2 separate regions of the Homo sapiens genome follow, and region 1 is linked to region 2. The links are contacts of gene promoters, found by promoter capture Hi-C in human tissues and cell types (Jung and others, 2019). All regions are on one chromosome and are shown on one strand. The core of a region is centred on a gene start or on the middle of the fragment in contact, and the rest is flanking DNA. Distances in the headings are between cores, read along the strand shown. Region 1 has its middle 25 kb from the start of ZNF252P-AS1. Region 2 holds the start of ZNF250 (zinc finger protein 250).

What was found. Contacts are between HindIII fragments. The study calls those that stand out against the background at their distance.
Region 1: a contact is called between a fragment that was not itself captured here and the fragment with the promoter of ZNF250 in region 2, in 4 of the 25 tissues and cell types used here (H1 embryonic stem cells, lymphoblastoid cells, mesendoderm cells and 1 more).

What each region holds. Positions count from the first base shown.
Region 1 is chr8:144,974,230-144,980,894 of GRCh38, reverse strand. It overlaps the pseudogene ZNF252P. Among named protein-coding and RNA genes, the nearest start is that of ZNF252P-AS1, 25 kb to the left of the region's middle. The HindIII fragment of the contact is 3,341 bases long and covers 2,300-5,640 here.
Region 2 is chr8:144,896,820-144,904,549 of GRCh38, reverse strand. ZNF250 (zinc finger protein 250) reads left to right here and starts at 3,097. Exons shown (of 6, transcript NM_001109689.4): 1 at 3,097-3,151. It overlaps LOC124902042, which reads right to left and starts at 2,926. Exons shown (of 1, transcript XM_047422534.1): 1 at 2,269-2,926. The coding sequence starts at 2,868. The coding sequence ends at 2,269. RefSeq lists silencers at 2,164-2,243, 3,304-3,413 and enhancers at 1,940-2,543, 2,544-3,146, 3,147-3,751. The HindIII fragment of the contact is 10,274 bases long and covers 1-6,926 here.

The DNA.
Region 1 (6,665 bases), core at 2,721-5,220, 75 kb before region 2:
ACGATTGCACTTTTTGTTTCTATCAGTTTGACTATTTTAGATACTTCATTTAAGTGGAACTGTGCAGTATTCATCCTTCTATGATGTCTTATTTCACTTAGCATAATGTCCTCAGAGTTCATTTGTGTAGTTGCATAGGACAGGATTTTCTTCTACAATATTTTATGGCTGAATATTTCATCATATGGATATACCAGATTTTCTTTATACATCCATCTGTTGATGGACATCTAGGTTGTTTCCACCTCTTGGCTATTGTGAATAATGCTGCAGTGAACATGGGAGTGCAAACCTATCTTCAAGATTCTGATATTGGCTGGGTACGGTGGCTCACACCTGTAATCCCAACACTTTGGGAGGCCAAGGTGGGCAGATCATGAGGTCAAGAGATCAAGACCATCCTGGCCAACATGGTGAAATCCTGTCTCTACTAAAAATACAAAAATTAGCTGGGCATGGTGGCATGTGCCTGTAATCCCAGCTACTCAGGAGGCTGAGGCAGGAGGATCACTTGAACCCAGGAGGCAGAGGTTGTGGTGAGCCAAGATTGTGCCATTGCACTCCAGCCTGGGCAACAGGAGCAAAAAAACTCTGTCTCAAAAAAAAAAAAAAAGAAAGAAAGAAAGAAATTAAACACCGCCAACCAAGGATCACCAGATATCTGAGGGAAATGGCAATATGAACTTTAGTGTGAGATGTTGGTTCTTGTCTTATGGATGACTCTCTCTTATGGTTTCTCATTTTGTTCACATTTATTTTGTCTCCTCCCAGCAAAATAACACCTAATAGAATCATCTGTCAGACTTTAGTCCTGAGACTACCTTGAGGACTCAACTCCTCAGATACCTCAGAAATTTTTCTCCCTACATTCAGGATGTTTATCTTCTAGGACACTGTTTGTAGGTTTCTAGAGTAAATTATGAAGTTTGCTTTTTTCCTTTCATACTCTGAATGGCAAAATCAATCCCTCTGTAGTACCATGAGTAGTTCACAGAAATCTATTGCGATTACTTAGCTTTTTGTTTTATTTTATTTTATTTTATTATTTTATTTTATTTTATTTTATTTTTTGAGACAGAGTCTTGCTCTGTCACCCAGGCTGGACTGCAGTGGCACAATCTTGACTTACTGCAACCCCCACCTCCTGAGTTCAAGCTATTCTCCTGCCTCAGCCTCCCAAGTAGCTGGGATTAGAAGCACCCGCCACCATGCCCAGCTAAATTTTGTATTTTTAGTAGAGATGTGGTTTTGCCATGTTGGCCATGCTGGTCTAAAACTCCTGACCTCAGGTGATCCACCCGGTTTGGCCTCCCAAAGTGCTGGGATTACAAGCGTGATCCACCACACCCAGCCATACTTAACTCAATTTTAGGCCTCATCCAGTTAGTATTTTTAGCTCAGTCTCCCTGTTCAAGCAGTGCAGTCTCAAGGAGCATCCCATTATAACTAATGATAACCGCCATTTGCAAAAAGAAGATTCCATTGTCCTTTTGTGGTATCTCAACACAGGGCTGCCCTCTTACTGTTCTGACCTCAGTTATCCTTCCCACAGTCTTTGTATCTATGTGACTTAGTGCTTGTTTTTTGTTTGTTTATTTGTTTTGTTGGTTGGTTTTGGATTTTTCTTTTTAATAAGCTTCCTTTCATTGGGTCTCAGAATTCAGTTTTATAGTTTTCACAAATTTTTGGACACTTTTGTTCACTGGAAATGTGTGATTTGGGACTGTTGTTTATACTTGGCCTTTTTGCCTTGTGCTGCCCAAGCTATTTCCTGAGTAGGTTGCTGCTTTTTTCTGTTTTTCCTGATTTGCTTCTGTGAAACCAAGTTGTCTAGATCAAATAGTTTTTTTCATCATCTATTGCACTGATGTACACCTCATTTATTATGAGTCATTTATCATTTATTTTCAACAAATATTTGAGTATGCTATGTGTAAGCCATAAGAAGATACCTTGTTTACAAAGTATGCAGCAATGACATGAATAGTGGAGGCAGCCTCCAATTCCTCCCTCCTGGTAACTCTCCCCAAATCCTTTCTCAGATCTTGCCTTTCCTACTCCAGGAAAGGTCAGCCTGGTTGCAGATTTAAGCCTTTGACCTTGGGCATATTACCTTCCTTCTTCCTTCCCACACCAGTGTTCATTGCTTTACCAGCATGCTTCTCTTTTTCCTCTCCCCAATGGGGTCATATTTGTTGCTTTTTTTTTTATTTGCATTCTGAATATCAGTATTATCCTAGAAGATATTTGTTTGATACAAATATTTCTGTTTATTCTCTAATTCTTTCTTCCATAGTAAAATGCAAGCGATTCACTTTTTTTTTCTTTTTCATTCTTTCAGGCTGTGATTCTAGGATTGAAAAAGAGGAAATGATTCCAAAGCAGGACATTTCTGAAGAATTGGAATCCCAGAGAGCAAAATCAGAAGATCATGTAAGGAATATTTTTAAGGAAACTGAAGAGATGAGTAAAACTGAGGGAAAGTTAGAGAATTGCTGGAGAAAATATGCAGTAGAAGGAGTTAAGAACTCATTCTCCCAGAAGAGCAATTTCAGAGAAATTACCATGAGGTATGTGAAAACCCTCTCTAGAGAGAATGGCCAGAAGTTCAATGCTGTTGGAGAAAACTGCATTACAGACTCAAATCCTGCCAAACATCTTAGAGGGTCTAGAGAGGAGAGTCTCCATCCAAGTGTGTCAAGTGTAGAAAACTTGCAACAACATGAGGACCTCATTAACCTCCAGAGTTTCCAATTAGGAGAAAGAGCCTATCAGACAGATGTGTTAGTGAAAGTGCCCAGACAGAGCTCAGTTCTTAGTGAGAATCAGAGGATGAATAATCCAGAGAGATGGTTTGAGAGTACTGGGTGTGGAAAAACTTACAATCAGAACAGAGCTTTTAACCAGCACCAGAGATTTCATAGTGGAGAGAAGACCTATGAGCACAATGAATGTGGAAAAGCTTTCAGTTGGCCCTCTATCCTCAGTAAACATCAGAGAATCCACACTGGTAAGAAACTCTACACATGTGAGGATTGTGGCAAATCTTTCAGTGTTCACTCATACTTTATTCAGCATTGTAAAATTCACACTAGAGAAAAACCCTATGAGTGTATTAAATGTGGGAAAGCTTTTAGTACACATTCATCTTATGTTCAACATCTAAAAATTCATACAGGAGAGAAACATCATGAGTGTAATCAGTGTGGGAAAGCCTTTAGTCATAGCTCTAATCTAATTCATCATCAGAGAATTCATAGTGGAGAGAAACCTTACAAGTGCAAAGAATGTGGGAAAGCCTTCAACAGACAATCAAACCTTATTCAGCATCAGAGAATTCATTCTGGAGAGAAACCTTATGACTGTAAGGAGTGTGGCAAAGCCTTCAGTACACAATTATTTCTCATTCAGCATCAGAGAATTCATACAGGAGAAAAGCCCTATGAATGTAATGAATGTGCAAAATCCTTTAGCCTGAACCGAACTCTTACTGTCCATCAGAGAATTCACACTGGAGAGAAACCTTATAGGTGTAATGAATGTGGGAAATCCTTTAGTCAATGCTCACAAGTTATTCAACATAAGAGAATTCACACTGGAGAGAAACCTTATATCTGCAATGAGTGTGGAAAATCATTTGGTGCTCGTCTATCCCTTATCCAGCATCAGAGAATTCACACTGGAGAGAAACCTTATGGTTGTAGTGTGTGTGGGAAAACCTTTAGTCAAAAGGGACATCTTATTCAGCATCAGTGAATTCACACAGGAGAGAAACCCTATGAATGTAGTGAGTGTGGAAAAGCTTTCAGCCAGAGTTTTAATCTTATTCACCATCAAAGAACACACAATGGTGAGAAGTCCTATGAATGTAATGAATGTGATAAAGCCTTCAGTTTGCTTTCTTCCCTTGTTCAACATCAGAGAATACATAATGGAGACAAACCCTATGAGTGTCACAAATGTGGGAAGGCCTTTAGCCAGGGGTCACACCTTATTCAGCATCAGAGGAGTCACATTGGTGAGAAACCCTATGAGTGTAATGAGTGTGGGAAAACCTTTGGGCAGATATCCACCCTAATTAAGCATGAGAGAACACACAATGGAGAGAAGCCCTATGAGTGCAGTGACTGTGGGAAGGCCTTCAGCCAGAGTGCACACCTTATCCACCATCAAAGAATTCACACTGGAGAGAATCCCTATGAGTGCAGTGAATGTGGGAAGGCCTTCAATGTTTGTTCCTCTCTCATTCAGCATCACAGAATTCATACTGGTGAGAAACCTTATGAATGTAGTGACTGTGGCAAGGCGTTCAGTCAGCATTCACAATTTATCCAACATCAGAGAATTCACACTGGAGAGAAACCCTACATGTGCAATGAGTGTGAGAAATCCTTCAGTGCATGCTTATCCCTTATCCAACACAAGAGAATTCACACTGGAGAGAAACCCTATGTATGTGCCAAATGTGGAAAATCCTTCTGACAAAGCTCTCACCTTATTCAACATCAGAGAATTCACAGTGGGGAGCAACCTCATACGTGTAATCGATGTGAAAAAACCTTCAGTTAGAGAATAACTCTTAGTAGTCATGAGAAAATCCATACAATTCACATTAGAGAGCAAGTCTATGAATGTAGTAAGTGTGGGGAACTCTAGCGCACAGTCATCTTTCATTCAACATTGTACAGTTCACAGTGGAGAGTAACTGATTAGTCTATAAATTCTTCACAGTTATACATTATATGAGAGTCATACTCGTGAGAAATGAGTCACTTTATGGTTTTCCTTTTGGAGATTCAGCTCTTAAGGGATTTCACTCTCCCAGTGAGCTGCTAACTAAAGGCAGGCTGCTGAAGTATATAGCAGCAATCCCACAATAGCACACCTTGCTTCAGATTCAGAGGATGAGCCCCCTTCTTGAGCCCTGTAGATATGTGAAACTTAATTATTTAGATGCATTTCATGGCACCAGACCCTAAGGTACAGTTAGGTATTTCACTGGAGACCACTTACTTTGCTTTGCTTTGCTTTTTTTTTTTTTTTTTTTTGTATGATTTATTTCAACTTCAAAGAAAGTAGTTGAGATCCTTGCACTTCCAAGTGTGATGGAACCAGGCTAGGGTTTTCTTTGTTTGTTTGGGCCTCTTCAAAACGTTTTTATTCTGTTATAAGGAATATGATACCTTAAGCTTCAATTCACAGGGAAGAGAAACATGATTATAAGCAAAAGTTTGTCAAGGAATAAGGTGAGTCTTTGTGTAGATTAAAATAGTTGAGACCTTGCTAAAAAGTCAGATAACACTGTAATCCACCTCCAGGTTTCCAAGAGTTAAGACGCTGCCAGCAAGGAGCTTGCAGTCTTGTAGCTGGCCCAATATATCCAACTAATTCAAAATGGGAAATTGTACATTTTACTTAAACAGGATTTGGTAGATGGGTCTTCTAGATATGTTGTCATGAAGAAAAATCAGGAAAATGTCCAAGGGTGGGAGCCTGTGGCTTATGGCTTCACTTACCCATCACAGATAGCTATGTTACACTGCAAGAACAGAGTTCATGGCTTTTCCTGAGGTGGCTGGAAACCTTAATCTCCTGAAGTTAAGTCAAAACTTAAATGTCAATTCACCCAGCTCTCTTGCCTGCAGGCTGATCCAGGGACTTAGAGCTTGTTACCCAGTTACAACTTCTTCTAGAGAAGAACTTTTAAGAAGGAAGCAAAAAGAAATTCAGTTTCCCCCAAGGATCTCTTCTTTGAGGTTCCATCAAGAGATGACAAAAGGAGGCTGGGCGCGGTGTCTCACACCTGTAATCCCAGCACTTTGGGAGGCTGAAGTGGGCAGATCACGAGGTCAAGAGATCAAGACCATCCTGGCCAACATGGTGAAACCACATTTCTACAAAATGCAAAAATTAGCTGGGCATGGTGGTGCACGCCTGTAGTCCCAGCTACTTGGGAGGCTGAGGCAGGAGAATTGCTTGAACCCAGGAGGCGGAGGTAGCAGTGAGCCAAGATTGCACCACTGCATTCCAGCATGGCCACAAAGCAAGACTCCAAAAAATATATATATATATGACAAAAGGGTTAGGAAGCTTTTCCTCTGAGGCCCACGATTACACAACCAAATCAGAAAATAATATTTTTTTTGTTTTAAACCTGTTTACATAAGATGGAGGTGTTTACTTAACTAAGAACCTCGGTATTTACTCAAATCCGGTTTTGGGTTTTATGGCTAAAACATTTCTCCAGATTAACCTTATCAGTTTGGAATATGTTTTTATTTTCCATTAAATATTTCATCCAAATCATACTGAATTTTATTTATCATGGCTTTTAATGTTCTCTATTCAAGTCAAATTTCTGTTTCCTAATTACTTGGCTTGGTGATGGCATTAATATTGGTTGGGAGCTAGATGGTCTCTGCTCTATTTGATGATTGGCATAGAGCAATCATACACTTGGTACTTCCTAGCATTTTTTTTTGAGACAGTATCATGCTGTATCATGTTGCACAGGGTGGAGTGCAGTGGTGCAGTCATAGCTCACTGTAACCTTGAACTCCTGGGCTCAAGTGATTCCCCTGCCTCAACTTCATGAGTAGCAGGGACTACAGCTGTGTACCACCACACCGGCCTCTCCTGGCTTCTTAACCACTTACATTAAAATT
Region 2 (7,730 bases), core at 1,848-4,347:
GACAGTGAAGGAGCTGAACTGGAGGACACCCAGTAGAATTGATGGCTTGCTGATGAGGAGAAATCCCCATATATTTTGGGGCTACATAAGTCTTCTGTGTTGTTAGTATGAGAGCAGAGGAAAAATAGGGTTTGAGAGTTTTTCTGAAACAATTTTCTGGTCTCCTAAGGTAGGTGTGGGTTTGAATCCCACTTGTGGCAGTGTGAGAGCAGAAAAAAAAACAGTTTGAGTTTTTCCAAAACAACTGGTGTCAAAACATGGCGAAACCCCATCTCTACTAAAAATACAAAAATTAGCTGGGCATGATGGCAGGCGCCTGTAATCCCAGCTACTCAGGAGGCTGAGGTAGGAGAATGGCTTGAACCCAGGAGGCAGAGGTTGCGGTGAGCCAAGATCATGCCATTGCACTCCAGCCTGGGCGACAACGAAACTCGGTCTCAAAAAAAGGATAAAAAATAAAAAAAGTAAACTGTATACTCATGAACGATACGTAAATTGTGTGTATATATATTATATATATCATATACGATTTGTTGCAGGGACTGTGCCTTACACCATTGTGGCACATAGTTAACAGTTCCTGTAAGGCTGTTGTCTTTGCATCTGATGCTGGAACAGGGCAGACAGTTGGGAAGGGAAGATGGATGTAAAGTGAGGAGAGACAAGTTGAGGTCTGTGACCTCAAGCTGGAGCCCAGGATGCGCTGAAACCCCTTTGTTGCCCTATAGGAGAAGCTGGAGCCTTTAGTCTTGGAGCTGAAGGAGCCAGAGGAAGAGGGGGCAGCTGCTGCCTCATGTCGCCCAGGTGAACCAGCAGACACAATGGCACCTGCCCAGACCTTCTGTAGTCCTCACCATCTCTGGACACACTCTGTAATTCCTACATTTATTCTGCGTATTGCCTACTGTCTCCATTCACATGTATGGTCCAGAAAGACATGGATTTGTTAGGCACTTGCTTGTTCACTGATGTAGCCCCGACACTTAGTGCTTAGCACACAAGCACTCAATAAACATTGTGCTGTTGAAGGAAAAAGAGTGACAGAGACACAGAAGGGACGTGCTAGAGAGGATGTCAGCTGCTAAATCTAAGTGAAGGGCACGGAGGTATTCATTGTATTATTCTTTCAACCTTTATGAATGTATCAACATTTGCAAAATAAAAAAGTTGTGGAGGAGGAAGAAAAACAAAAACCAGGATGCACTGAGGTCTGAGGTGAAGGTCCTAGGAGCATCAGTTCTCTGTTGGGATCAAGGTTGCTGGGACAGAGCTTGATCCCTGTCAACTGCTAAAACAATCCAGGACAATCCAATAGTAGAGCTGAATTTTGATTACCTTGGTCCTGAGCTTCACAGCCCTTTGGCAGAGGAAATCCTGTGACACTGAGGTGTAACCACAAGACTGGCCCAAACTGACCCTATTCTGTTGGTAACAGGAGGTATAGCAGAGCCAAAACTGAAAGTCATGTAACCCGGACATGCACAAAGGAGGAAAATCATAACTCGGAACCAACGTTTCCTCCCTGTGGAGCCAAGAAGACAGGGACATGACCGGAGCTTGAGGGGCGGAACGCTTTCAGAAGGGAAGGGTCCATTATCCTGGAAGATCTGGTGCTGAAACCTGCCATTCCACACCTTACCATAAATGGCCAAGTTTAAAGCCCTCCTATTGAAACCTGCCCGCCAGCACTTCTGTGTGCCAACCTGTCCTCCCTAACCCGTCGACTTTGACCTAAGCCCACATGTGGGAGCCACATTTGAGCCATGCCTCCGGTCTCCTTGGCCGTCGACCTTGAAATAATAAAGCCTTCTCTTTTCTCAAAAACTGGTGCCACCGTTTTGGCTTCTAGTGCGCCAGGCAACGGGCCCATTGCTCGAAACGCGCGTGGTGGATGGTAGCTCCGTGAAGTGCGAACCCCTGCCCGCAAGGGCTGCTAAGTTCGCTGAAGCGTAGCACAGACTTCGCGTCTGCCTGGTGCGCGGCAAGTACGGAATTATCGCCACATCCTCCCGGCCTCCGCTCCCAACAGCACGGGCCGGGCACTCGCTTCAAGCCTACCCCCTAACCTTAAGCCTTCCCCGCCGCCCCCACGCAGCCCCCAGCCCCGCCCTGTGGGGAAGCCTCTTGAGAGTCTGGGCCCGCCCACGCGCCCAATGGACGACGCGGACCTGACCTTCGGGAGTGGGGCCAGCAGAAGGTGGACTAGGCGTCAGCCTTCCCGTCCCCTGACACCGCTCCAAACCAGCCCCACCCTCCCTGCCGCGGCTGTCAGGTCCTGGGCTGTGCCCGAAGCCTCCACACGGGTGTGGCCCGCGCCCTCGTGAAGGCCCGCCCCTCTCCCCCAGGTGCGCGGTGTAAACACACCAAAAAGCAAACACCAGGGCCGAGTGGGCGACGGAGACGGTCGCTGTTCAGTGACGCCCCCTGTCGGGAGCACGCCGGGCCGGACACAGCGAAGAGCGGCTGCGCCTCGGACCTCGCAGCACTCAGCCTCCTAAGTGGGAGGAATAACCTCACGCAAGTCATCAAACAAGAGGACTTCAGTGTTGCAACGAAGGAAGAGAAAGGGCCCCTGAGAAGGCGACATTCGCACTGCAGCGGCGCAGGGACCAGCCAGGCGGCTGAGGGCAAGGTCGTTCCCAGCAGCGGGAACCGCAAGGGCAAAAGGCTCGGAGGGGGGAACGAGCTCGAGTTCCAGGACGGCCGAAGCCAGCGCAAGTCGAGGAGGGACTGCGGGGCCGGCAGGGGTGTCCTCCACAGGGCGACGGCGGCAGGAGCTCGGGAACCGGGACTGCGAGCGGGTAAGGCTCGGCGATGGGCTGTAACCTCCGCGCCCGGAAGTGCGGCCGGGGAGCCGGCCGGGCCCATTGCCCAGAGGTGTTCGGCCCCTCTAGGGATCGCGGAGGTCTGGCTCTCGGTGGCTCCTGAGAGCTCCCTGCAGTCGGTCACCGAGAAAGGCTTCGGGCGGGCAGGCGGGCCAAATGACGTAAACATGCTTGCCCTCCAGGATTGGCGAACTCGGCTGTGGGGGCGGGAACTGAGGGGCAGGAGCCCCCAGGGATTGGCGGCTGCGCAGACGGGGCGGGGCAGCCCTTTGTCTGAAGGTGCTGCGGGATGCCGTTCCTTCGCGCGTGAGGCTGCGGCTCTGACGGTGAGTGGGGGGCGCGTGTCGTCGCCGGCCAGGACCCTCTCCCATCACGGACACCGGAGCCGGTGCGTCCTCCACACGAATCGTGGACTCTTCCCCGCGAGCACGCACTGCCTCCTGCGTTTACGCTGGTCCCCTCCCCTCACGGACGCGCGGCGGCCTCCTCCCCAGGGCCAAGGCCGCGCCCTCTCCCCCGTTCGGGGTTCCCACCCTTCCCCTCGCCCGGCCTTGGACCCCCTCAGGCCCTCCCGCACCCCCGTCCGCCTCGGACGGCCTCGGTCCCTTCCCCGCCCCTACCCCCTTGGGCCCCGTCAGACCGGCGTCCCTCCCACCTTGGATCTCCTCAGATCTCCGGCCTTCCTCCCCCTCGTGCCCTCCCGCGCGCTTTCTACCGGGCGCCGTGCCTAGGGCCAGGATGGCCGGAGTCCTAGGGGCGCAGTCCGGACCCCCGGGCCGCTCTTCTTGCCGCGCTCCTCGGGGTCTCGCGTCCCCTGGGATGGGCCCGGAAAGGGGTGGGGAGCTTCCCCAAAATATAAAAATGGAGGTTTTTTCTGTTTGATGCACATCCTGAGGAGCCCCATGAAGACCCCGGCGGCGCACCGGGAGCGCCACTTTACTTAGCTATAAAAAGTCTTCCCGCGTCAAGACGAAAACGAGCTGCTTTCGTTTCAGCAGTTGGTCGAGTGTGCTACTTGCCGGGTGTCTTATCCTCTCCCCATTTTGCTGTCGATGCTGTCTTTTCTGTTACTGTGTTAGAGCCCTATTTTAATGAATGAGCCCAACTCTTTGCAACACAGCAAATATTTTCCTTGTTGTTTATTGGCTTAATTTTAAAATTGAAAATAATATGCAATACTTCTTCTAATGCAGGCATGTCAGAAATATATAAAAGTCATCCCCCCCGACACTCTGCCAGTGTATGAAGAGGCAGGAGCTGTGAACAGTTTCAGAATTTTTGAATGCCGTTAGAGCTTTAGGCACGCACGCACACCCTTTTTTCTGTCATCAAAGGGAAGCTGGTGTCGTTTGACTAACACCAGGGGCGGCAGGGGGCGCTCCACTCGTCCTCCGCCGGGTGGGTACTCGCAGATTTTTCAGTTCGTAACTTGTCTTCTGGACATAGGTTTCTCTGTCCGGTGGTCTCTACGAAGTGGGTAAGGGTGGGAGATTGCCATTGACATTCCCGCCCTGGACGGGACTCTGGTCCTGTGGGCTTTGACAGGTCACTGCATTCCTGCCAGGTCGACGTTTTGCGTTTATTGGTGAGATTGAAATCCCTTCATTTGTGTTTTCGCCATTTGTATTTCTTTGTGATTTGCCAGCTCATATTTTTTTCCATGTATGTTGAAAACATGCTTCTCAATTTGTCTTTTGACTCTGATTATGGTGTTTGATTCTGGTTTGGGCTTTTTCAAAATAGAAAATTTAAAATTTTTAGGAGTCAAATATTTTGCCTTAAGGCATTTTGGGCTTTGTGCTGTGTTTTAAAGGGCTTTCCCCACTCCAAGATTATTTTTAAAATAAACTCTTGTTTTTCTGTGGTACTTGTAAAATGTTGGATACGTCTGGAATTTATTTTATTGTGGGGTGAGTTTGGAATACAGCTTTTGGAATTCCTTTTTTCCTCTAAATCATAGCCATTTCTAACACCATTGATCTTCCCATTGATTTGAAAAACCGCTTTTGTCATATACTAAATTGTTGCATGCCTTTAGGTCCATTTTTGGAGTTTGGTAGCTTTGATGTGCATATGATTTTGATTTATAAGCTGCAGATCTGTGGAGCTCTGCTTTTTGCTTTTGGTATTTTGCTTAGAACAGCCCTTCCCACATGAAATAATAAAAATATACCTGTATTTTTATTAAAGTTCTTTTTTATTGAATATAATAATTATACACATTTATGGGATACATGTGATATTTTGATACAAGGATAGCATACAATGTATAATGATCAAATCAGGGTAATTAGGATGTCTGTCACCTCAAACATCATTTTTTGTGTTGGAAACATTTCACATCTCTTCTTCTGGTTGTTTTGAAATATACAATAAATTATTAACTGTAGTCATCTTACCGTGGTATCAAACACTGGAACTTATTCATTATATCTGACTGTATGTTTGTAGTCATTAACCCACTTCTATTCATCTCATACCTCCCCCCAACCCCACCCTTCCCATCCTCTGGTAATCATCATTCTACCCTCTACCTCCATGGGACCAACTTTTTTAACTCACACATACGAGTGAAAACATGCAATATTTGTCTTTCTGTACCTGGCTTATTTCAATTAACATAATGACCTCCAGTTCCATCCCTGTTGCTGCAAATGACATAATTTCCTTATTTTTATAGTTGAATCATATTCCATTGTGTACATATACCACATTTTCTGTATCCATTTATTTGATGTACATTTCGGTTGATTCCATATCTTAGCTATTGTGAATAGTGCTGCAGTCAACATGTATGTTCAGATATCTTTTTGATATACTGACTTCCTTTCTTTTGGGTATATAACAAGCAGTGGAATTGCTGGGTCATATGGTGGATCTATTTTTAGTTTTTTTCATATGCTTGTTGGCCATACATATTGTCTTTTTTTGATAAATTACTCAGATCATTTACCTGTTTTTAAATCGGATTAGTTGTCTCTTTCTATTGAATTGTTTGACTCCCTTCTGCATTCTGGTTATTAATCCCTTATCGGATGGATAGCTTGTAAATATTTTCTTCCATTCTGTATGTTGTTTCTTCACTCTGCTGATTGTTTCCTTTCCTGTACAGAAGCTTTTTAGTTGATGTAATTCCATTTGTCTAGTTTGCTTTTGTTCCTGTGCTTTTGAGGTCTTACCCAAAAAATGTTTTCCCACATGAGTGTCCTCAAGTGTTTCCTTGATGTTTTACAGTTTTCTTTATAGGGACTCTGCATTTCTAAGGTTTAATCTTGTTTCTTGTTGCTATTTGTTGAATAGATTTTTTTCCATTCATATTTTCTGATTAGGTGTTACTGGTATATAAGAAAGCTATCAGTTTGGTTGTTTTTTTGTTTTGTTTTGTTTTGTTTTGTTTTGTTTGTTTGTTTATTTGCTTTTTTTCTTTTGAGATGGAGTCTCACTCTGTTGCCCAGGCTGGAGTGCAATGGCGCGATCTTGGCTCACTGCAAACTCCACCTCCCAGGTTCAAGCAATTCTCATGCCTCAGCCTTGGGAGGAGCTGGAATTACAGGCACGTGCCACCACACCCAGCTAATTTTTGTATTTTTAGAAGAGACGGGGTTTCACCATGTCACCCAGGCTGGTCTTGAACTCCTGACTGTTGGGATCAGGCCCCCCCAAAATCTGGCTATAAACTGGCCCCAAAACCGGCCATAAACAAAATCTCTGTAGCACCGTGAAATGTTCATGATGGCCATAATGCCCACGCTGGAAGGTTGTGGTTGTGGGTTTACCGGAATGAGGGCAAGGAACACCTGGCCGGCCCAGGGTGGAAAACCCCTTAAAGGCATTCTTAAGCCACAAACAATAGCATGAGCGATCTGTGCCTTAAGGACATGCTCCTGCTACAGTTAACTAGCCCAACCTATTCCTTTAATTCGGCCCATCCCTTCGTTTCCCATAAGGGATACTTTTAGTTAAATTAATATCTATAGAAACAATGCTAATGACTGGCTTGCTGTTAATAAATACGTGGGTAAATCTCTGTTCAGGGCTCTCAGCTCTGAAGGCTGTGAGACCCCTGATTTCCCACTTCACACCTCTATATTTCTGTGTGTGTGTCTTTAATTCCTCTAGCGCCGCTGGGTTAGGGTCTCCCCGACCGAGCTGGTCTCAGCACCTGACCTCAGGTGATCCACCCACCTTGGCCTCCCAAAGTGCTGGGATTACAGGCATGAGCCACTGTGCCCGACCAGAAAGCTATCAATTTGGATACATATTTCTGATCATTAATTCTGGAAAGGTTGCAGGTTAGGGTTAGTTTAGGTTAGTTAGGGTTAGTTTAGATTAGGTCAAGTTTAGCAGTGTTTCGCCTTGTGCTCACAAGTGGCTCAGAAGCTGCCTCTCTTGAAAGTGCTTTCACCCTAGCGGGTAGGGGCTCCTTGGTGATGAAGAGGGAGCAGTGCTTGTTAGCAGAAAGTCCAGGGAGTGAGGATGATGAGGAGCAGGAGAAGGCAGTGGCCCTGGAGGAGATCCTGGAAGCTCATCCCAGATCAGGAGACTCCAAATGTGCCTGTCCCAGTGTGTGACCATGTGCAGGGTCCTCTGGAATGACAGGCACACTGCTTTGTCACATCAAGACAGTCAGGAATTCCAAAAAGAGTGATAGGAATGTCTCACTGCGATGTGGCTTTTGATCACCTAAAGAAAACTGGAAAGCCAGTTGCTGCTAATAACGTTGATCTATTGTTTTTGTTTTGGATTATTCCTTAGGGAAATTTTCAAGATTGAAATTCCTGAGTTTGAAAAATTAGCTCCTTATGCTGCCACCTTTGTAACCAGTGGGTGGGAGGGATCATTGCTCAGCCAGTGCCCTGAGTGGGTGTTCTTTATATTGCCCATTTGTTAGCTGTTGGCATGGCC